Regions from separate parts of the Homo sapiens genome. Here regions 2, 3 and 4 are each linked to region 1. The links are contacts of gene promoters, found by promoter capture Hi-C in blood cells and fetal thymus (Javierre and others, 2016). All regions are on one chromosome and are shown on one strand. The core of a region is centred on a gene start or on the middle of the fragment in contact, and the rest is flanking DNA. Distances in the headings are between cores, read along the strand shown. Region 1 holds the start of BCAS4 (breast carcinoma amplified sequence 4). Region 2 has its middle 140 kb from the start of MIR3194. Region 3 has its middle 120 kb from the start of MIR3194. Region 4 overlaps ATP9A (ATPase phospholipid transporting 9A (putative)).

What was found. The method cuts DNA at HindIII sites, captures the fragments that hold promoters and counts their contacts. A CHiCAGO score of 5 or more calls a contact.
Region 2: a contact is called between a fragment that was not itself captured here and the fragment with the promoter of BCAS4 in region 1, in 13 of 17 cell types (total CD8 T cells, total CD4 T cells, naive CD8 T cells and 10 more). The highest score is 14.5, in total CD8 T cells.
Region 3: a fragment that was not itself captured here is called in contact with the fragment with the promoter of BCAS4 in region 1 in 2 of 17 cell types (endothelial precursors and total CD4 T cells); the score reaches 8.3 in endothelial precursors.
Region 4: a contact is called between a fragment that was not itself captured here and the fragment with the promoter of BCAS4 in region 1, in 1 of 17 cell types (naive B cells). The highest score is 5.4, in naive B cells.

Annotation. Positions count from the first base shown.
Region 1 is chr20:50,791,709-50,796,835 of GRCh38, forward strand. It overlaps BCAS4 (breast carcinoma amplified sequence 4), which reads left to right and starts at 3,353. Exons shown (of 5, transcript NM_198799.4): 1 at 3,353-3,465. The coding sequence starts at 3,376. RefSeq lists a silencer at 3,086-3,905. The HindIII fragment of the contact is 4,840 bases long and covers 2,885-5,127 here.
Region 2 is chr20:51,308,271-51,313,337 of GRCh38, forward strand. No RefSeq gene overlaps it. Among named protein-coding and RNA genes, the nearest start is that of MIR3194, 140 kb to the right of the region's middle. RefSeq lists enhancers at 2,654-3,643, 3,644-4,632. The HindIII fragment of the contact is 307 bases long and covers 1,372-1,678 here.
Region 3 is chr20:51,325,292-51,330,873 of GRCh38, forward strand. No RefSeq gene overlaps it. Among named protein-coding and RNA genes, the nearest start is that of MIR3194, 120 kb to the right of the region's middle. RefSeq lists an enhancer at 2,787-3,665. The HindIII fragment of the contact is 1,204 bases long and covers 990-2,193 here.
Region 4 is chr20:51,595,223-51,600,459 of GRCh38, forward strand. ATP9A (ATPase phospholipid transporting 9A (putative)) reads right to left here. Exons shown (of 28, transcript NM_006045.3): 28 at 1,292-5,237. Among named protein-coding and RNA genes, the nearest start is that of NFATC2, 55 kb to the left of the region's middle. The HindIII fragment of the contact is 2,854 bases long and covers 1,567-4,420 here.

The DNA of each region.
Region 1 (5,127 bases), core at 2,103-4,602:
ATCCGACCGCCTCGGCCTCCCACTCCCAAAGTGCTGGGATTACAGGCGTGAGCCACCATGCCAGCCTGGCTTTTTTTTTTTTTTTTTAAATGAGTCATTTTAGACATTCATACAGTTTTGGTATTGCTACAAACATCAGCCGAAGAAATAAAACATTCCGAATATTGAAATCCCTCTCAGCCGAACACCTGACGTCAGGAGTTCAAGACCAGCCTGGCCAACATGGCAAAACCCCGTCTCTCCTAAAAACACAAAAATTAGTCAGGCGTAGCTGGGTGCGGTGGCTCATGCCTGTAATCCCAGCACTTTGGGAGGCTGAGGCGGGCAGATCACCTGAGGTCGGGAGTTCGAGACCGGCCTGGCCAACATGGTGAAACCCCGTCTCTACTAAAAATGCAAAAATTAGCCAGGCGTGGTGGTGGGCACCTGTAATTCCAGCTACTTGGGAGGCTGAGGCAGGAGAATCACTTGAACCCTGGAGAAGGAGGTTGCAGTGAGCCGAGATTGCGCCACTGCACACCAGCCCGGGCTACAGAGACTCCGTCTCAAAAAAAAAAAAAATATTAGGCGTAGTGGCATGTGCTTGTAATCCCAGCTACTTAGGAGGCTGAGGCAGGAGGATCACTTGAACCTGGAAGGTAGAGGTTGCAGTGAGCTGAGATCGTGCCACTGCACTCCAGCCTGGGCGACAGAGCGAGACTCTGTCTCAAAAAATATATATATATTAAATCCCTCTTGGGCTGGGTGCAGTGCCTCACTCCTGTAATCCCAGCACTTTGGGAGGCCGAGACTGGTGGGTCACTTGAAACCAGGAATTGGAGACTGGCCTGGCCAACATGTTGAAACCCTGTCTCTACTAAAAATACAAAAATTAGCCAGGCTTGGTGGTGCTTGTTCCTGTAATCCCAGCTACTGGGGAGGCTGAGGTAGGAGAATCGCTTGAACCCGGGAGGCAGAGCTTGCAGTGAGCCGAGATTGTGCCACTGCACTCCAGCCTGGGCAACAAAGCAAGACTCTGTCAAAAAACAAAAAAAAGAAAGAAAGAAAGAAAAGAAAAAGAAATCCCTCCCTCCCATACCCCTCTCCAGTTTCTTCTCCCCCGCCCTAAAGTAACCACTTTTGGAACATGGGGTACGTCGTTCCCATGCACAGCTTTGTACTTTTGCTCCATCTGTCGGTGTCCATAAACAATATACAGTGTGGTTCTGCGTGTTTTAAAAACTGTGCTAATGGCACAGTGCCCTACAGAGCCTTCTGCAACACGACTTTTCTTCCTTAGCTTTATGTTTCTGAGATTTATCCACCAGGAGAAGTTTGCTGTGCTCAGGTCAATTTGGTGATCTGAGGCCAGTCCTGGGCTCTTTGTGGGAGATGCCTAGCCAGCAGGCAAGGGCAAGGGTCTGAGACCGGCTCCCAGGGGATGGCGAGGAGGGCTCAGAGCATCAGGGAAATCATGACAATGACGAATGGCCGAGTGTGGGCTCAGTGAGTTCCTATAAAACCCTTAAGCACTTGAGGCCCAAGTCTTTGCCAAGAATTTTCCAGAAAATGACTGGCCTGAAGGCCTGGATATTTGGATAGGGAGAAATTAGCAGTGGACAGATTTGGAAGTGGGAATTGTGCAGTGATGGACTACACAAAAGGCAGGTCAAACATGTGTTGTTTAGGCCCCTACCTAGGGTGGCCAACTACAATATAAATTCAGATTTAATGGAGAGGAAGGTGTGGGACGTCCTATATATTTATTTGCACCCTTGATACCAGCCCCTCCTTTTTAAAAAACAACAACAACAACAAAAGACAGAGTTTCACTGTGTCACACAGGCTGGAGTGCAGTGGTGCGATCATAACTCGCGGTAGCCTTGAACTCCTGGCCTCAAACAATCCTCCTGCATCTGCCTCTCCAGTAGCTAGGACTACAGTTGTGCCCCACCACATCCTGCAATTTTAATTTTTTTTTTTCTTTTAGAGAGATGGAGTCTCCTTATGTTTGCCCAAGCAGCTCAGCCTTTTTTTTTTTTTTTTTTTGTGAGGCGATTTAACATTTAAAGAAAAGTCAGCAGGCAGGGGGCGCTGGCCCACGCCTGTAATCCTAGCACTTTGGGAGGCCGAGGCAGGTGGCTCACCTGAGGTCAGGAGTTCGAGAGCAGCCTGGCCAACATGGCGAAACCCCGTCTCTACTAAAAAATACAAAAATTAGAATTAGTCGGGCGTGGTGACAGGCGCCTGTAATCCCAGCTACTCGGGAGGCTGAGGGAGGGGGAGAATTGCTTGAACCCGGAATGTGGAAGTTACAGTGAGCCGAAATCGCACCACTGCACTCCAGCCTGGGCGACAGAGCGAGACTCCGTCTCCAAAAAAAAAAAATTAATTAATTAAAAATAAAAATAAGTCATCAAACGAAAAATCAAAACTTCAGACTTGTCTTATACCTATTTGCCTTTTAGTACTTTCCTCATTAGCACTGTTGGGGTGGGAGATGAGGCGCACCTCGCTCTCTTCAGCCCCAAGGCTTGTAAAGGGTCTATCTAGGCCGGCCTCCGAGGGCATGGAGGGAGTGGGTGCGGTTGTGAAATGTAGTGCGCTCAATAGTTTCCTGGTGAAGTTTATTTTAAAATCCGCACCGAAGAGGAAGACGAGGACCGTCACACTCGGCCTTCCCTAAATTCCAGGACCCTCCGCCCGATGCAAACTAGATGCTTTAGTAGGATGGGAACGGGTGGGGGGCGGGCGGCTTTGGGCTTCCTCTAAGCTAGCGCCTCTCTAACCCGGACGCCCGTTAGAATCACCCGGGGAGTTTTAGAAACTACCGATGCCCAAGCCCCACTCCGAAGGATTCCAACTTAATCGGCCTGGTGCGAGGCCTGGCTTCCGGGCTTTTAAAAGCTTCCCGGGGATTCTATTTTACGGCCGGGTCCGGGGCCGGGAGCCTGTACTCTACCGGGATTCCGATGGGGAGGGGTGGCTTGCCCCAATAGTTCTCAAATTTAGCTTTGGGTCAACAATCTGGTTGGAACCACCTAACAAACATCAAAAGATCCTGATGCCCAGGTCTTAACCCAGAGACGGTGTGGTCCAGGCTTGGGAAATTCTAAAAGAGCTCCAGGTGACTGCCATCTGCAAGCGAGTTTGCAAAGCACTGATGCCCAGGTGCTGCGGGGGCGGGCGCAGCGCGCGCCGCTCGCCACTGGGTGGCGCTGCCCGCTCGGCCCGGCGCTCCTGGAGCTGCGAGCCGCGACCGCCGGGAGCGCACCTGCCCCGCCTCCGCCAGGCGGTCCGCGGGGCATGCAGCGGACCGGGGGCGGGGCTCCGAGGCCCGGGCGCAACCACGGGCTCCCAGGCAGCCTCCGCCAGCCGGACCCCGTCGCCCTCCTGATGCTGCTCGTGGACGCTGATCAGCCGGAGCCCATGCGCAGCGGGGCGCGCGAGCTCGCGCTCTTCCTGACCCCCGAGCCTGGGGCCGAGGTAGGGGACGGGGCTGTGGAGTTGGAGGAGAGGGTTCTCGCGGTTAGGGGTCCGGGCTCCGGACCCTCGGCTTCCCCGGAGCATCCTCTCGCTCCCGGAGTGGGGGGCCCGGGGATTCCCCCCTTCCTGAAGGGTGGCTGCGGGGCGCCACGCAGAGATGTGCAGCGGGTCGTCCCTGCTCGCTCCTCCGGGCGACACCGGGCCCCGGAGGCCCAGGCTCGCTTTCCCTCCCCACCCGGGTCCCCCAGCATCCGCCGGGTCCTCAGGCGCCGCCCTTTGCCAGGCCGGCCCTGGGAGAGGCGGACCCCGGGACCTCTGCTGCCCCGGCTACCTCCGAGCGGTGCCCGGGCCGAGCGGCGCCTCAGGCTGCGGCTGTGCGGGCCGCGCTGCGCTGCTGCAGCTCGGAGCGAAAACACCACGCCTCTGTCTGCGCTTTCTATTTTAAAAGCACCAAGTGAAAAGCAGATCTAAAACGAGACCCTCTACCTTCCGGCTGGAGGCATCTGTCGACGCTGTTGTGAAAAAGTTATTTGTCTGAGTTCACTAGGAGTTATTTACGGTCAGAAATTCAACCCATTCTCTTTTTAAACCACAAAAGCAGTACAGGAGTATTTAACATAAAGGCTATGCACCCCTTTCTCTTTTCTCTCCCACCCCAATTCTAGTTTTCTTAGAAAACCAGCATTAACTGTTTGGTATAAATCATTCCGGACATTTAAAATGCATTTACAAATGTAGATATCTGTATCTGCCTAGGCAGAGTATTGGCTCATGCCAGTGGTCCCAGCATTCTGGGAGGCTGAGGCAGGAGGATTGCTTGGGATGGGGATAGGGGACGGGGAAGAGTGAGGCTGCAGTGAGGCTTGATCATGCCACTGCACTCCAGCCTGGGCGACAGAGTGAGACATTTAAAAAAAAATCTATCTCGCCAGGCCTGGTGGCTCACGCTTGTAATCCCAGCACTACTGGGAGGCCGAGACGGGTGGATCACCTGAGGTCAGGAGCTCGAGACCAGCCTGACCAACATGGTGAAACCCCGTCTCTACTAAAAATACAAAAATTAGCCGGGTGTGTAATCCCAGCTACTTGGGAGGCTGAGGCAGGAGGATCGCTTGAACCTGGGAGGCGGAGGCTGCAGTGAGCTGAGATCAGCCATTGCATTCCAGCCTGGGCAACAAGAGCAAAACTCCCTCTCAAAAAAAAAAACCATAAAATATCTTTCCATATATATATATATACATATATATGAGTTTTCTCTTTTTTCTTTTTCTTTTTCTCCATATATATATATATATATATATATATATATATATATTTTTTTTTTTTTTTTTTTTTTTTTTGAGATGGAGTCTTGCTCTGTCACCAGGCTGGAGTGCATTGGCATGATCTCAGCTCACTGCAACCTCCGCCTCCCAGGTTCAAGGAATTCTCCTGCCTCAGCCTCCCGAGTAGCTGGGACTACAGGCGTGTGCCACCATGCTCAGCTAATTTTTGTATTTTTCAGTAGAGACGGGGTTTCACCATGTTGGCCAGGATGATCTCTATCTCTTGACCTCGTGATCCACCCTCCTCGGCCTCCCAAAGTGTTGGGATTACAGGCGTAAGCCACAGCGCCCAGCCATCTCCACATATTTTTAAAATAATTTTTGAACAGACGTTTTT
Region 2 (5,067 bases), core at 275-2,774, 510 kb after region 1:
TGAATAAATGGCCCGGGCCAAATTATCCTTCTGCCATAAAAGGTGCCAGGTAGCTGGATGATGTCAACCCAGGTGTTGGCTTCAGAGATGACAAAACACCCCACCCCCTTTCTAATTCCCAGAGAAGCAGACAGAGCCCAGGTCACCCCTTCCCTCGCCACCCCGCCCCAACCCCCACCAGAAGCAGGTGCCTCAGGGTAGTGGGGAAGTACCCAAGGCAGGGGCCAGGTCCAGGGGAGGGAAGAAGGAGCATAAGATAACCTCCCTTGCACCTCCCCAGGTTTAATTCACCTTACTCTGGCCTCAGAGTTTGGTTTGAGGCTAAATCCCCAGGAATCCAACCCACATTCAAAGGGATACACCAAAGCTCATTCCAGGAAACAGAAAAACTGATTTCAAGTTTCCAGCTGTTTGGGCAATCAAGGAAATAATCAGGGCTTTGGATTTGGTTTCTGTTTCTCTCTTTGGCTGTGTGACTTTGGGTTAACCTCTCTGACCTTCAGATTCTTCGCTACCTTTCTAGGTAGCTGTAGCAATCAGTGAGGTTCATTCTGCCTGCACTGAGCGGGGCTGAGTGCTGGGGAGCTGCCTGGTGCTTGGGAAGACAGAACGTTCTGTTAACTCTCATACACACACACAAACCACTCACAAAGGCATGTGGGGACAGAGCAGACTTTACTGAAGGTTTGGATCAGTAACCAAAGACATCTTACAATTGAAAGCTGCATCTCCCTCATCTTCAAAAGCCTCCCGGCTATGTTCACCATCTGGCTCCAGCCCCTTGTCCTATTGTCCAGCTCATCTTTCTTTCCTCCCCTCCTCATCCCCTCTCCTCTCCCATCCTCTCTTTGCAGTGTTCCCTCTTCAAAATTCCTCTTTACTTCTAGCAAAGAGCAGTTCAGCACTCTTTTGGTGGCCTGACTCCCAGGGTTACTGCTAACAGCTGTGCAAATGTAAACCCAGGTTGTACCAATTACATCATGGTCCATAGCAGGGGGCCACAAATTGCAACCCACCGCCAAATATGGCCCACTGCCTGTTTTTGCAAATAAAGTTTTATTGCAACACAGCCACACCCATTCACTCACTCATTGTATATGGCCCCTGACGCTATACAACTCCAGAGCTGAATAGTTGTGACAGAGACCATATGGTCCATAGACTTAAAATATTGACTCTCTGTCCATTTATAATTCAACATTTTAATGAACTGCCTGGAATCTGTGAGAGACTAGTTAGAGAGACTGGTTAAGGGTCACTGTCTGCATTTCTTCCAGTAACATAAAGCCGATCTAGCTCCTGCTAGGACCAGGCTATCAGCCTGGCTCTGGAGACAGATTGATGCCCAGGAACTTCTGCCTGCCCTCAAGAAGCTTGAGATCAAGTCGGTGAGAACACTGTGCCATGTTTAAGTGGCACAGAAAAGGGATGAGGTCAACCCCAGGAGGGCTGACCCCTGCAGGCCTCTGAGCCAGCTGGGTTTGGCCATGGGAGGCAGAATTCGGAGGGCAGGAGAGAGGCTGGGGTGTTTCTCCCCCTCTCTTTCTGCCTCAAGAAGCACCTCTGCAGCTGCCTGGGCCCAGAATTGCCCAGCGTTTCACAAAAAGCTACAAATATGGATTTTGTATGAATTCTTCCTATTTGTAAATGTTAGCATTGGTGATTCAAATATTATTCAAGCTTTTTTAGCTCCATGGGCTTATGGTTTGTGGCTTTTGTACAGTAGTCATTGATACTGTCCCCAGTTTAAAATTCCTATGAGTCTGATACAACCCCTGTGGAGAGCAAAACTGTACATACCCACATCATATGATACACCAGTTCCACCCCTACGTATCTTTACTCCAGACAATCTCCCATTCCAGCATGCTGGAGCCATACTCAAGGAGACTCATAACAGCATCTGTGTGTAACAGAGAAATATTAGGAACCATTAAAGTGTCCATCAATGGGAGAGTGGAGAAATGCCTTGTGACATATTTGCAGCAAAAACAACTACAGCTTCATTGATGTACATGGATGTGGAGTTCTCATTAGGGAGGAGGAGTCAGGCTGGTGGGACAAAGGGAAAGCAAAAAGAGAAAGCAGATAAGCTGTAAGTCTGCCTTTCCAGGACACAATGCAGGACCATGGACCTCTTGCACAATATAACTCACAGTCTTCCTGTGCCCAGCTATTACCAGACTCTTGGCTGATAGAAAAATGCAAGTTAGCTCCCTGCAACCTTGGTGTTATCAGTACAGCACGTAGCCCTCTCCAGCCCAAGAACCAGCGTATAAAATCTCCAGCAAGCTTTGTCCCTTTGCAGTCAGCTCCCCTCTTGCTGACCTGCCCATTGCTTCCTTGCAGCGCTTTCTCGAGTAAATCTGCCTTTCTTTACCTACAGCTATCTTGGTACATTCTTTTCACCACCTATATGACACCAACCCCAGAGAGTCGCAACCCACGACAATGGACAAACCTCAGAACATCATTTTAGAATGAGAAAAGCATAGTATCTTACTTATATAAAGTTTTAAGCATGAAAGCAAAAGTGTCTGTTGCACAGGGATATATGTGCATATGTTCTATAAATGTAAAGGCAAATATGGGAATAACAAGCATTGTATTTAGGATTATGAAACCTCTGGGATGAGAGAGAGAAGAATGGAGTGGGCAGGTTATTCACAGGGACCAATTTTATCTGCCATGCTTTGTTTCCTAAAAAAATCAACCATGGGCACATGAGGGGCTCCCTAGGGTAACAGATGATTTCTTAATCTGGAGGCTGGTTCCAATTTGGGAAAATTCATTGAGCCAATCATTTATGATACGTATAGTTCTCTGCACATGTGTAATTTTTCTTTTTTCTTTTTTTGAGACAGATTCTTGCTCTGTCACCCAGGCTGGAGTGCAGTGGTATGCTCATAGCTCACAGCAGCCTCCAACTCCTGGGCTCAGGTGATCCTCCCTCCTCAGCCTCCTGAGTAGCTGGAACTACAGGCCCACATCACCATGCCTGGCTATTAAAAAAAAAAAACTGTCTGTAGATACAGGCTTTCACTATGTTGCCCAGGCTGGTGTTGAACTTCTGGCCTCAAGCAATCATCTTGCCTCAGTCTCCCAAAGTTTTGGGGTTACAGGCATGAGCCACTGCATGTGGCCTGACTTTTCAATACAAATCTATTGATATAATTTGGATATTTGTCCCTGCTCCAATCTCATGTCAAATTGTAATCCCTAATGCTGGAGGTGGGGCCTGGTGGGAAGTATTTGGGTCATGGAGGTGGATTCCTAATAGCTTGGTGCTGTCTTTGCAATAGTGAGTGTCAATGAAGAGTGTCAAACTCTGCGAAATATCCGAAGAGTTTATCCTGAGCCAAGTATGAAGGACCAGTGGCCCTATGACACAGCCCCAGGAAATCCTGAGAATATGTGCCCGAGGTAGTCAGGATACAAAATGATTTTATACATTTTTGGGAGACATGTCAATCAATGCATGTAAGATACATGTTGGTTTCGTCTGGCAAGGCGGGACAATTGGATAACTGGAGGAGGCGGGGTTCCAGGTCATAGGCGGAGTCGAAGACTTTCTGACTGGCAATTGGCTTAAAGAGTTATTATTTAAAGACCTGGAATCACAGACGGAATGGTTAAGATAATAGGTTGTAGAGACCCAGGTTTTATCATGCAGATGAAGCCTCCCAAAGCAGGCTTCACAGAGAATAGATTGTAAATGTTTATCAGACTTCAAGTCTGTTCTATCTGTCTTAAGATCTCTGTTTTAATGTTAATGTTGGTCAACTGTGCTTGAATTCCAAAGGGAGGGGGAGGAGGGTATAAGGAGGCATGTCTGACTTTCACTTCCCATGATAACCCGAACTCGTCTTTCCAGTTAATTTTAGAATGCTCTTGGCCAAGGGGAGGGTTTATCAGCAGGTTGTGCGGCTTAGAATTTTATTTTTGCTTTACATGCGTGATCTGGTCATTTAAAAGTGTGTGGCACCTCCTCTCCCTCTCTCTCTTCTTATAAATTACCTAGTCTCAGGTATTTCTGTAGAGCAATGCAAGAATGCCCTAATACATGTGTTGTAGGGGGAAAAAAAAAAAAGGGTTCTTGTCACATGACCAGGAAAGATTAGGCCTGCAGACACTTTGAAGGGTGAGGGGAAATGGAATTTATTAGGCGAAAAGGAAAAATAAATCTCAGTAAAGCAGGAGAGAGTCCTGCTAGAAGGCTTCCCACCTCATAGTTTGAATCCCAGTTTACTATCCAGGAACAGGAGAGGCCAGGTTCCTTTCCCTTGCAAACGGCACAAACTTCTTGAGACTCCACCCCATCCTCCCAGTGCTCAGGCAGGTCAGAGATTCTCCAGGACCTGCAGTCCGGGTTTTTCAGCCTTCAGGCCATTTTAGGCTTGAAGGCGGAGTTTTGTGGGGGGACCCTTGGCTGTCTCCTGTCTCTATGACATGTATTAAATAACTTCAGTCATAAAACAAATTTGAACCAAGCTGGGTAGTAGATGTCAGCCTTTCTGGTACACAGGTTGAGCATCCCGAATCTGAAATCTGAAACGCAAAATGCTCCAAAACTCAAAATGGTGTGAGTGTTGATGCTGTACTCGAAGGAAGTGCTACAGTGAACATTTCAAGTGTTCAGATTTGGGATGCTCAGCTGCTCAGTGTAATACAAGTATCCCCAAATCTGAAAAACTCTGAAATCTGAAACACTTCTGGTCCCAATCATGTTGGATAAAGGATACTCACCCTGCATTATCCTCTGCTCTTTATTGTAGGCTTAAAATACTCAATAATGAAATCCAATGAATCTACAAATGCTCGGCAGTGGCCTGGCTGCAAAGTGAGACCACTAAAGGTTTATTGTTCACAGTGACCTGGCCGCATATCTAGACAGTTGCTTTATGATGGGAAATCTATAGTAAAAACAGGCTTCAGAATAAGATAGATCTGCTGTCTTAAGCTCTTCACGTTACCTTTCCGAGCCTCAGTTTCTTCATCTTTCTAATGGGGAGGATAATGCCAGCCTCATGGCTCAATGATGGCTGTTCACAGGCCCTCCAGGAAAGG
Region 3 (5,582 bases), core at 342-2,841, 530 kb after region 1:
TATCTGTGGGGCAGGAATCCAGGCACAGCTTAGCTGGGTCCTCTCCTTCAGTGTCTCTTCCAAGGCTGCGATCAAGGTCTTAACCAGGGCTAGGATCTCATCTGAAGGCTCAACTGGTGTCGGCTCCATTTCCAAGTTCACACATGTGGTTGTTGGGAGGATTCTGTCATGTGTGGGCTCTTCGATTCAGGGCCTCAGCTCCTCACTGGCTGTTGGATGGAGAACTCCGTCAGTTCATTGCCACACCGGCTCCCCGCTCGCCACAGGGCAGATTTCAGCATGAGCTGACTATTGACCATGTGAGCCTTCCAACCTGGCAGGCTGCTTCCTCACAGCTGGCGAGGGAGAGGGTCTGCTAGCAAGATGGAAGCCCAACTATTCTGTAATCTAATCACAGATGTGGCATTCCCCCAATATTGAGGTATGCTGTTGGTTTGATGGAAATTACCCAAGGAGAAGGGATTACCTGAGGGCATGAATATAAGAAAGTGAAGATCACAGAGACCATCTCAGAAGCTGCCTGAACCACCAGGGAAGAAGCTATGAGGTGTGAACAAAGACCCAGCGACATTGGATCCAGGTTATCTTCTTTAGGTATCTGCACCTGTCCACGCCTCTCCTTGCAATAAATCTTCTTTGTTTAGGAATGAAATGGTCTTTCTTAGTTAATGCGAACAGGGGACATTTCTTGAGGGTGGTTGTAAAAGAACTCCTGTAACCTGACCAAAGCACGTCTCTCACCAGAAAGACCTAGCTGCTGGGGATGGGGTTGGGGGAGCTGCATCCGTTTGCATGTGGAGCCAGGTTCTCTAGGGAAGGAAGGAACTGAGATATCCATCATTGCTCCCCATGACCTGAAGTTGGGAAAAGCCATCAGAGTGGACTCTGGGGCTCTCACCTAACATCTACTGGAGAAAGACAGGAAACCCACGTGGCTGGGGACGGATCCAGAACAAGAAATCATCAAGAGGGTGGGAGCACCTGGCCAAAGCTTGAGCGCCTTAATGAGGTTCACAGGGGACTGCTTCTAACAGGGCTACTGGCTGAGCTGGAATCTTGTCAGGCCCCAGCAGTCCCAGCGTTGTGTTGGGGAGCAGTGGATCTTGAGCTCAGAGGACAGCCTGTGCTTAACAGTGACCCCTGGTGGCCATGAGACCTGATGGCTTTAGTGTAGGTTTCTGTTGTTTGGAAATAGGACTGATCCTCTTTGGACCATGTAAATCCCAGGATTCTTGGATAATGGGAGTGGTGAGAAAGTGAGGTGCTCAAGAGGAAGTATTAGACTTCCTGCTGCTGAAGGTGTAAGGGGCTCAATTTATTCAAGAAAATGTGAAAGCAATAGGGAGGATGCTTCAGTGGTCCCAAAGGTTATGGAATAAACCAGAAGTCCATAAACTTTTACTAAAGGGCTGCATAATAAATATGTGAGGCTTTGTGGGCCATACATCCCTGTCTCAGCTAATGAACTTGGCTGTTGTAGCATGAAAGCAGTATAGACAATAAGTAAGAGAGTGACCATGGTTGTGTTCCAATACAGCTTTATTTACCAAAACAGCCAGTTGTGGGTCATAGTTTTCTGACCTCCTGGGGTAAACAGTTGAGGCTAGTCTTTCCACCTTTGTAAAAGAGAAGATTTTGTGAATGTTTCTGGTTCTGTGAAATGTTCTTTCTTCCTTTGGATAAATGGAAGTTCACAGACCTCCATTTGTTCATTGCTGTTTCTTTATTTTATTTTATTTTATTATTTTATTTTGAGACAAGATCTCACTCTGTCACCCAGGCTGGTGTGCAGAGGCTTGATCATGGCTCACTGCAACCTTGACCTCCCAGGCTCCAGCGATCCTCCCACCTCAGCCTCCCAAATAGGTGAGACTACAGGCGCACACCACCATGCCTGGCTGATTTTTAAAAGTTTTGTAGAGATAGGGTCTTGCTGTGTTGCCCAGGCTGGTCATGAACTCCCAGGCTCAAGTGATCCTCCCACCTCGGCACTCCCAAAGTGCTGAGATTAGGGGCCTGAGCCACCGTGCCTGACCGCATTTCTTCCTTTGTATAAATGGAGAGGTATTTATGAATTATTGTATTCTCCTTTAGGCCAATGGAAACTCAGTCATGGATTTGCTTCATTGTTTTTTCTTCTTTTGTGAGTTACACTCAGTCATTCTAATGCATATATGTATACACACACGTACAAGCTTAGGAATGTACTATTTGTGGTTGTAAAAATGAAGCTGCTCATCTTCTGCTCTGAGAGTCTGGAAAAGTTTATAAATATCAAATAGTATCTGCTGGCATTGTCCAGCAAGACACATCACTTCCTATCGTGTGGGCGCGTCCCTCCAGTCTAGCCGTGTGCCTACGACACAGAGCTCTAGTTGGCATCAGGATTTTCCACTAGACAGTCCGCGTTCCCCAGCGGCCAGCTCGGAGGCGTTCCCGCCCTCAAAGCCACAGCCAAGTCCAGGGCCTCAGGGACAGGTCTGGGGAAAATCTATCAAGTGATTTGGGAGAACCAAGGCGTCTGGGTCGAAGGCAGGGGGATTCCCTCCCACCCTGGCCTCTCTGCTCCTTTCCAGACAGACCTGCCAGGCATTGCCAAGGTGCTTTTTAAAATCTTCAAACAGAGTTTTAACCATGATGTGTGGCAGACATAGGTATCCCTCACATACTCATAGGTATTTGCTTTAAATATTTGAAAACAATGGAGGAATGAAGACAGGCTTGAGTTATTATATATTAAAGTACACGAAATGAGATTCAGGCTTAAATTGTTGTATCAGGGTTTGACCACAGCAGAATCAACTGGAGGGATTTATCGTAGAGATTTACCTTATGCAACTTGGGGAGCTGGTTCACCAGTCTACATGGGGCTGCTTCTTTGAATTTGACGCTGGATCCTCAAGTCAGCAGGGCAGCCACCAAGAAGGAAGGATGGATGGGAAGTGGGAGGGAGTGACGACAAACTGGAGCCACCAGGACAAGCTGGAACCCGGGATGACAGACTGGAAACCCCCCGTCCATCTCTTGCCACCTCCAAGCAGCCATCTGTGATTACTCACTCAGGTGATCTGCAGGAAAAGGTGGCATTCTTCATCCCGGAACTAAACAGGCCTCTGCCAGGATTCAGAGACACTAAGGAGGATCCACAGGGACTGGAAGCTGCAGGCTTAGCTGCTGCCCACACCAACCAGGCGAGCCCACAGAAGGGTGTCCACGTGGGTGCACTGCAGCCGCGTGCTCCATGCCCACCTTCCAAGCATGGCAGCAGTCTACCTGCCACTTCGCTTCCCCCTCCCGGGTCTCACTCAAAATGTCTTTTGGTCTATGCTAACCAGAAACAATGCAGGGAAGGGAATTCTGAGAATTCCAACTTAGCTGAGTTGACATGATCCAAATCCACCACAATTATTACATTAAAAGGCAAATGGCAGTAAGTGAATTGACTAGGGCTTTTATTAGAAATATTACTCCCACTGTCAGTTTAAATGTAGATATTTAAAACGTCCCTAAGCAAAAAGTTACCACATAGTAGGAAAGGCTCCGAGGTCACAAAACCTAGATCCAAATTACTAGCTGGGTGGCCTAGGACAAGTTGCTTAACCTCTCTGAGATTGCATAGCTTCACTTGTAAAAAGAGGATTAAGAGCACCTACTGCATACAGCTGATACATATAAGATTTAGCACAGTGGCCGCACACAGTAGGTGCTCAATAAACGAAACAGCAATTCATCAAGGCACATAACAACAGCACAACACATTGTGTGGCACTATTTTCAGAATGTATCAATCCATTTGAGTCTTTCACTAACTTGTGAACTCCATGAAGTCAAGAGTTATGAGTAAATGAGTGATGTGAATTAATGAATTTACTATATTCCTGGGTACTAGGCAGAGTGGGTGTGATCACGCCTGCTTAAGTATAACAAACTAAACTTTATTGATTTAAGTGCCAAGCCAGGGTTAGGTGCCTGATCTTCTCATGCCCACACCAACCAGGTGAGCCCGCAGAAGGGTGTCCACGTGGGTGCACTGCAGCCGCGTGCTCTGTGCCCACCTTCAAATCCATTGTCCTTTCCAACACAAACTGCCACATCTCTCCCGCATACCAGAACATTCTGGGACTACTATGAAGAAGTGGCTTTGTGTACAGAAGCTGCTCCCTCTTCTTTCATTTCCCCTGATGTTGTAGCAAATGCTTGGAGTTCTTCATAGAACCACTGTTGAAGAGGTTGTGCTCTGTCTGTCTTCAGAGAGACCTGCATGTGCTGCTTTCACTGGTTAAGTTTCACCTTGTCTGGTTCATTCATTCAACAAACTAGATTAAGAATCTATTAGGTACTCAGCATTGTTCTAGAAGCTGAGGATATAGCAGTGAACAAAACAGACATAGCCCTATTCCCATGAAACTTATATTCTGGTTGGCTGTGGGAGTGAGCTTCCAAGAGAGCCCCAGGGATCCCTGCCTCCTGGTACTCACAACCATACTGAATAGGGATGACTTGTGTCACCCAATATGGATAGCTGGATGGCTGGATGGGTGGGTCGGTGGGTGGATGGATATATAGACAGATGAATAGATAGATGATAGACAGATGATAAGTAGATAGATAAATGATAGGTAGATGATGGATGGATAGATAGATAGATAAATAAATGACAGATGGGTAGACAGATGATAGACAGATGGTAGATAGATAATAGACAGATGATAAATAGATGATAGACAGATGATAGGTAGATAGATGATAGGTAGATAATAGGTAGATGGTGGATAGATGTATAGACAGATGGATAAATGGATGGATCGATGGATGGATTGATTAGATAGATGATAAATAGATAGATAGACAGATAGTAGATAATAGACAGATAATAAATAAATGACAGATGATAGGTCAGTTGGTAGATAGATGATAGGTAGATAGTAGATAGATGGTGGATAGATGTATAGACGGATGGATAGATAGATTGATTGATTAGATAGATGATAGATAGATGATGGCATGGCAGTGACTTCTGCAGCAAGATCATATACACAACGTGCTTTCCACCTTGCTCTCTCTCGAGGACATGTATTGAATGCCAGGTACTATACCAATATGTTACATTGTTTTGTCACATTTAATCTTCATGACAGTCTTATGGGGTGCCTTTCTTATTCCCATTTTCCAAGTGGTAAAACTGAGTCACTCACTCTGGGGGAGGCCTGCTGCCATGCTGTGAAGCCTCAAGCAATCTTATGGCAAAGTTCACGTAGTGAGGAACTGAGGCCTCGCACCAGCAGCCCTATGAGGCAGTCGTCTTGCAACCAGCCCCTCCAGGCCCAGTTGAGCCCTCAGATGACTCAATCCCAGCTGATTCCCAAACTCCTGACTCCCAGAAACTGTAAGGTAATCAATATTTGTTGTTCTAAGTTACTATGTTTTTAGAGCAACTCATTATGCAGCAAAAGAAAACTAATACCTGGGGAGTGATGGGCCAAAAATGAGCAAAATATACAGCCTGCCAGGTGGTGGATAAGAGCTCTGGAGGAAAACCAAACAGGGAAGGGGACTGGTGAGGGAGGGGATTGCAACTTTAA
Region 4 (5,237 bases), core at 1,744-4,243, 800 kb after region 1:
AGTTCACTGCAGGCAAATGCAGAGGCTTAAGGTCGTGCAGGGATAGCACACGTTTAAGGGAAAGCATGGTCGGTCCCTACCTTTGAAACCACATACCTTCCTTTTGCTGCTGTCATGAGATAACACAACTAAGTTACAATTATCTTTCTAATCTATATACTGAGGATGGCCCTTTCCATTGAGAACCAAAAAGAGGGAACCAGCAGCTCACACTGCAGACAGCCACTAATTACACCATTTGGTATAGTATTTGGTATAGTAGGCGGAGGCATAACTTGCTTCCTGAGACACACGAGCTTATACCTCCGGGCCCTTTTACAAATACAGACAGACAAATGGTACAGCTGACACGTGCCAATTAAATTAGGGTTTCTCTGGCTGGGCGTATGGGCTCATGCCTGTAATCCCAGCACTTTGGGAGGCTGAGGCAGGCAGATCACCTGAGGCCTGGAGTTCGAGACCAGCCTGGCCAACATGGTGAAACCCCGTCTCTACTAAAGATACAAAACTTAACCGGGCGTGGTGGCAGGCCCAGCTACTCAGAAGGCTGAGGCAGGAGAATCGCCTGAACCTGGGAGGCGGAGGTTGCAGTGAGCCAAGATTGCACCACTGCATTGCAGCCTAGATAACAGGGCAAGACTCCACCTCGAAAAAAAATAATTAGGGTTTCTCAATGTTGGCACTTTTGACACTTTGGGCTCTGTTGTGGGGGCCACCCTGTGAATCACAGGGTGTTCGGCAGCATCTCTTGCTTGTAGCACTCCTCTTCCCCGAGTTGTAACAACTGAAAAGGTCTTCATACCGCCACGTGTCCCCCAAGGGACAAAAATCACCCAATTGATTTCAACTACTTCCTACACAAAAGCTTTTTTTGTTTTGTTTTGTTTTGAGACGGAGTCTTGCTCTGTTGCCCAGGCAGGAGTGCAGTGGCACAATCACGACTCACTGCAGCCTCGACCTCCGAGGCTCAGGTGATTGTTCCGCCTCAGCTTCCCAAGTCGCTGGGACCACAGGCTTGAGCCAGTACACCCAGCTCGTTTTCTTGTATTTTTTGTACATGAGTTTCACCACGTTACCCAGGCTGGTCTCAAACTCTGGGCTCAAGCAATCCTCCTGCCTTGGTCTCCCAAAGCTGGGATTACAGACATGAGCCACTGCGCCGGGCCTTAAAAATTTTTTCTGCCTAAAACTTAACTGACTGTTCCTATATGTTCCATCCCTCGATAAAAAAAAAAAAAAAAGATTCCAGTCATCGAGGACCGTGTATAGAAATACAATATGAAGCTTATGGTTTTCATCTTATTTTCCATTTATATCTATCACCTTTTGAAATTCTGACACGTCTGGGATGGACAATAGTACAAAATAATAAATAACATGCATTGATTTGGGGTTTTTTTTGCCAAAATCAAAATAATTTTCTGAACTGGAAAGAGTTTTCTTTACATTTCATGTACCATGAAATAAAGAAAAAATAGGAGCGTTATAATAAAAAGTCCTCATTTTGATACCAGAATTCATGTTTCTGTACAAATTAAAATAATCCCCCAAGGCAGAACGTACACAAGCTTTATTGGGCAACAGCAACGAGCCACGCTGGCAAACAATGAAAGTAGAGTCGCTCAGAAACACGAAAGATCATATGTGTGTCATCACAGCATCGAGAATTTAAATCATCTGGAAGTTCCTGCTAAATTAAAGCATACTGTGCCAGAGCTCCCCTCTAATCAAAAAACGCTGTCCTGGTGAAAATTTGCAATGAGGATTACAGAGAGAGAGATCAACCAATGAGGAAATCACAGACTCTTACATGAGTTTACAGTTAACCCCACTGCAACAAAATAATAAATTAGCCATAATTTGTTTTTTTTGCAAATACCATGCCCCCCACCTGACCCCACAAACACAACAGTCACTGACATGGCCCAGCTATATTAACAGACTGCGCCTCAAACCATGCTGTGGCGGAGAAGACAGATTCACGGGTAATGCCGCTTTGGCCTGAGAAGATGCTTCGGAGCTCCAGGTGGAGGAGCTGCTCACGCTGCAGGATGCTTTGCAGGTTCATTCAAAACCAAATTTTTTTCCAAGAAGAACTGGACATAATTCATGGGAATATTTTAAGTATATATAAGTGGCAAAAAAGCTGTACATTAAAAGAAGGGGGAGAAATAAAATGTGTTGTATTTACAAAGCTCTTTGTATATTTTTTTAAATGAAAACAAAGCTGGGAGTGATAGAATTTTAATGCAATGAAAACCAAATAATTCTTCAAAAAACTTTAGATGACATCATTCTCTCGCTCTTTCACACACACACACACCCCCCACACACTTCAAACATACAGAAAAGGTTAAAGATAAAAATAGCTGATAGGTGTTTAAGTAGGATGGAGCAGAAGAATGTACATGTCCCATTTGCAATTTTGGCAAAGGTTTAAAATGCTGCCCTAAAGGCACGCACGCATGCCCAGCCTACCCCAGTAAAAACAAGACAAAGTATAAAAAGAAAAGTCTGGCGGGGGGTGGGGGAGGCATTAGCATATCAATTTCCAATGAGCACAAAATTCAAAATACATTAAAAAGTAGCATGGCTTACATTTTCAGCAGAGAAGAAACTGAGGAAATGTTCATAAAGAGACAATGATTTTTAAGATTTACTGTCACAAAAAAAAAAGGGTTTCACTTCAGGGGAGTGGAACTGGGATGGGAATTTTACAATGCTAGTTCCAGCACGTGGTCTAATGGCCCCAGGGGCTGGAAAAGGGAGGTCTGCTCCAACTTTAAGATGCGCCCTTGGGATGCCTTCCAAGCAGCTGGAGTTAGTGCCACCTGTCTCACCTGGCACCACAGGCAACACACATGTGCACACGCATGCTTTCAAAATGAGGATCAAAACTGTCCCACATAAGAAATTACTCAAGATGGAAAAACTAGTCTGGTGATTTTCTTAGAGAAAAAAAAAGAGAGACAAAAAGGAAGGGGTGGGGGGAGGGGAAGAAACCAAATAGATCCTGCTTCCCCCTGTCACACAACCATCATCAAAAGACATATGAACAATAATAAAATAGTAATAGAAGTTCTTACTCTGGCAGAAATAGCTAGTGTTGTCAGAGGGCGCAGGGAGCTGTGAGTTTTGCTTTCAGGAAAAGTGTTCAAACAGTGCTGACTGTGTACCTCAAGGCCCTCTGACCTCAAATTAAATTGGCTGTCAAAGACTTACGGCCCATGGAGCTCCCAGGTGACAGTGTCAATGGCGCTTTATGTAAGTTCTTTCCAGATTGATGAACCAAGAAAAAGGTCAACTGAATCCTTATGCTTAAGGTTTACAAACTCAGGAGAGTTTCTTGTATAGTAACTCTAGTTTCTTGTTTGCTTATTTCTTTGTCTTCCCCACCACAACTAAGATGACCTCCGAGAAGTACCCAGGCGCCCCTGGGGTTCTCTGCTGGGCTTACAGTCTGATTGTGCAGGTAAAGATCGTGTCCTCTCACCGGACTGCATCCTCCTGCCTTTGCGTCTCCAGTGTCTGAGAAGCACGGTGTGTGCATTCCTAGGTGTTCAGGGACCGTCCAGTGAATGGCGTCAGCCAGCTGCCCACTGATGGGATGGGCCAACGACGTGGCAGTTTGCACTTGAGTGTCGGTACTTCTCACCCTTGACCGCCTCCGCCCCAGTGCGGCTGAGACAACAGAGTAAAAAGGTTTGTGGAGAACACTGACGAGTACCTTCCACTTCCAACTATGGCTTCTTCAGCCCCTCCTGGGAGCATTCTCCCTTGAAGATGTCAATCAGTATCTTAAGCGTTGGCTTTAAAAGTCAACTTGTGCACCTCAATCAAAATTGAGAATTAAGGAAAAGGCCAGGGAGACCATCTTCATTCTGCTTCTGCTGGAAACCTCTAAAACTTTCTGACGAGGCTCCCACACGCCCTGCCTGCAGGAGCCAGCATCCCGAATCTCCGAGCAAAGCCAGGTACAGGGTTTGCAAAGTCTAAACAGGACTATCTTAAGACTTCCCAGCGTTACAGAGCCAGGTTCAGCATCTGCAAAGTCTAAATGGGACTATCTTAAGACTTGCCAGTGTTACAGACTGATTTCCAAGAAAACGGAGGCTTAAAAACTTCCAGCACAAATTTCTCCTCCACCTTTGAAAACACAGAAACTCACTCAATGAATACGTCAGATTTGCTCAATCTTTCTGAAATTTTTGGACAAAGATCCTATCCTTAACTATTCACTCAATACATCTTTTCTGCCGACCTTTTCCCTCTGGCAGAAATGGCTGAATCAGATAGAGAAAAGTACTGCAAAACTGCAGAATCATAAGACAAAATAGATGTGGTGTCAACAGCCAATTAACCAGTACCTGCAACGTAAAGTCATTCTAGAACATTTTAAAAGGACAACACAAAATACAAAAGCTTATCAAGAGTGCTCCAAAGGCAAGGGACTATCTGATCCTCGTGTCTCCAGCTCTCCAAGAGCAGGAGTTAGTAGGCATCAGAAACCAGGCTGTGATGTACATCTCTGAAGCACACAGAAGTAGCGCCAGGCAGAGGGTTTGAAGGATATGTATTCATCAAGAAGTAAACGCAAATCCAAGATCTCAACCACACTTGGCTCTTAAAGATCCACCAACTTAACCCTTATGGCATGCATATGTGGCTTCTGCAAGAAGCAACTTGAAAACCCAAGAATGCCTTGCTCTACCACGTCCCGCGACTGCAAACTCCCTTCCTCTGAAACAAGCAGCCACAGCTTTATAAGAAACATGCCGGCATGTAGTCCATCCTGGGAGGGGAGAAATCTTCACCACTGGCTGCCTTTCAGCAAGTTCCCCTTGAAATCTGCCGGCAGTGGAACAGATCCCAGATCCCAACGCTGTAGCTTGGGCGTCCTCCCACCAGGGGTTCCTTGTTCTGAAAGCTGCCACCAGTGTTGTTCCGAAAGATGCCTCTGCCTTTGTGGGGTCATCTTCCATTATGCCTCCTAACAGGAAACAGGCTTCTATGGAAGAGAAGAGTCCCAGCCCCCTGACCTTTCCGCTTTGGTCTTGGAGGATCTGAGTCACATCTGCCATGTTGCCTAAAGAATTAGTTGAGTCTCTTATCACACTGTCGACACATTTAGGGGCCATTCAGTGGCACGTTTCCTGCTAAAACAACTCTGCTGAAAATGTCTGAGGTCCTTCTCAAACAGCCACTGGCTTTGTGATTGTTACCAGGTCCCAATAAAG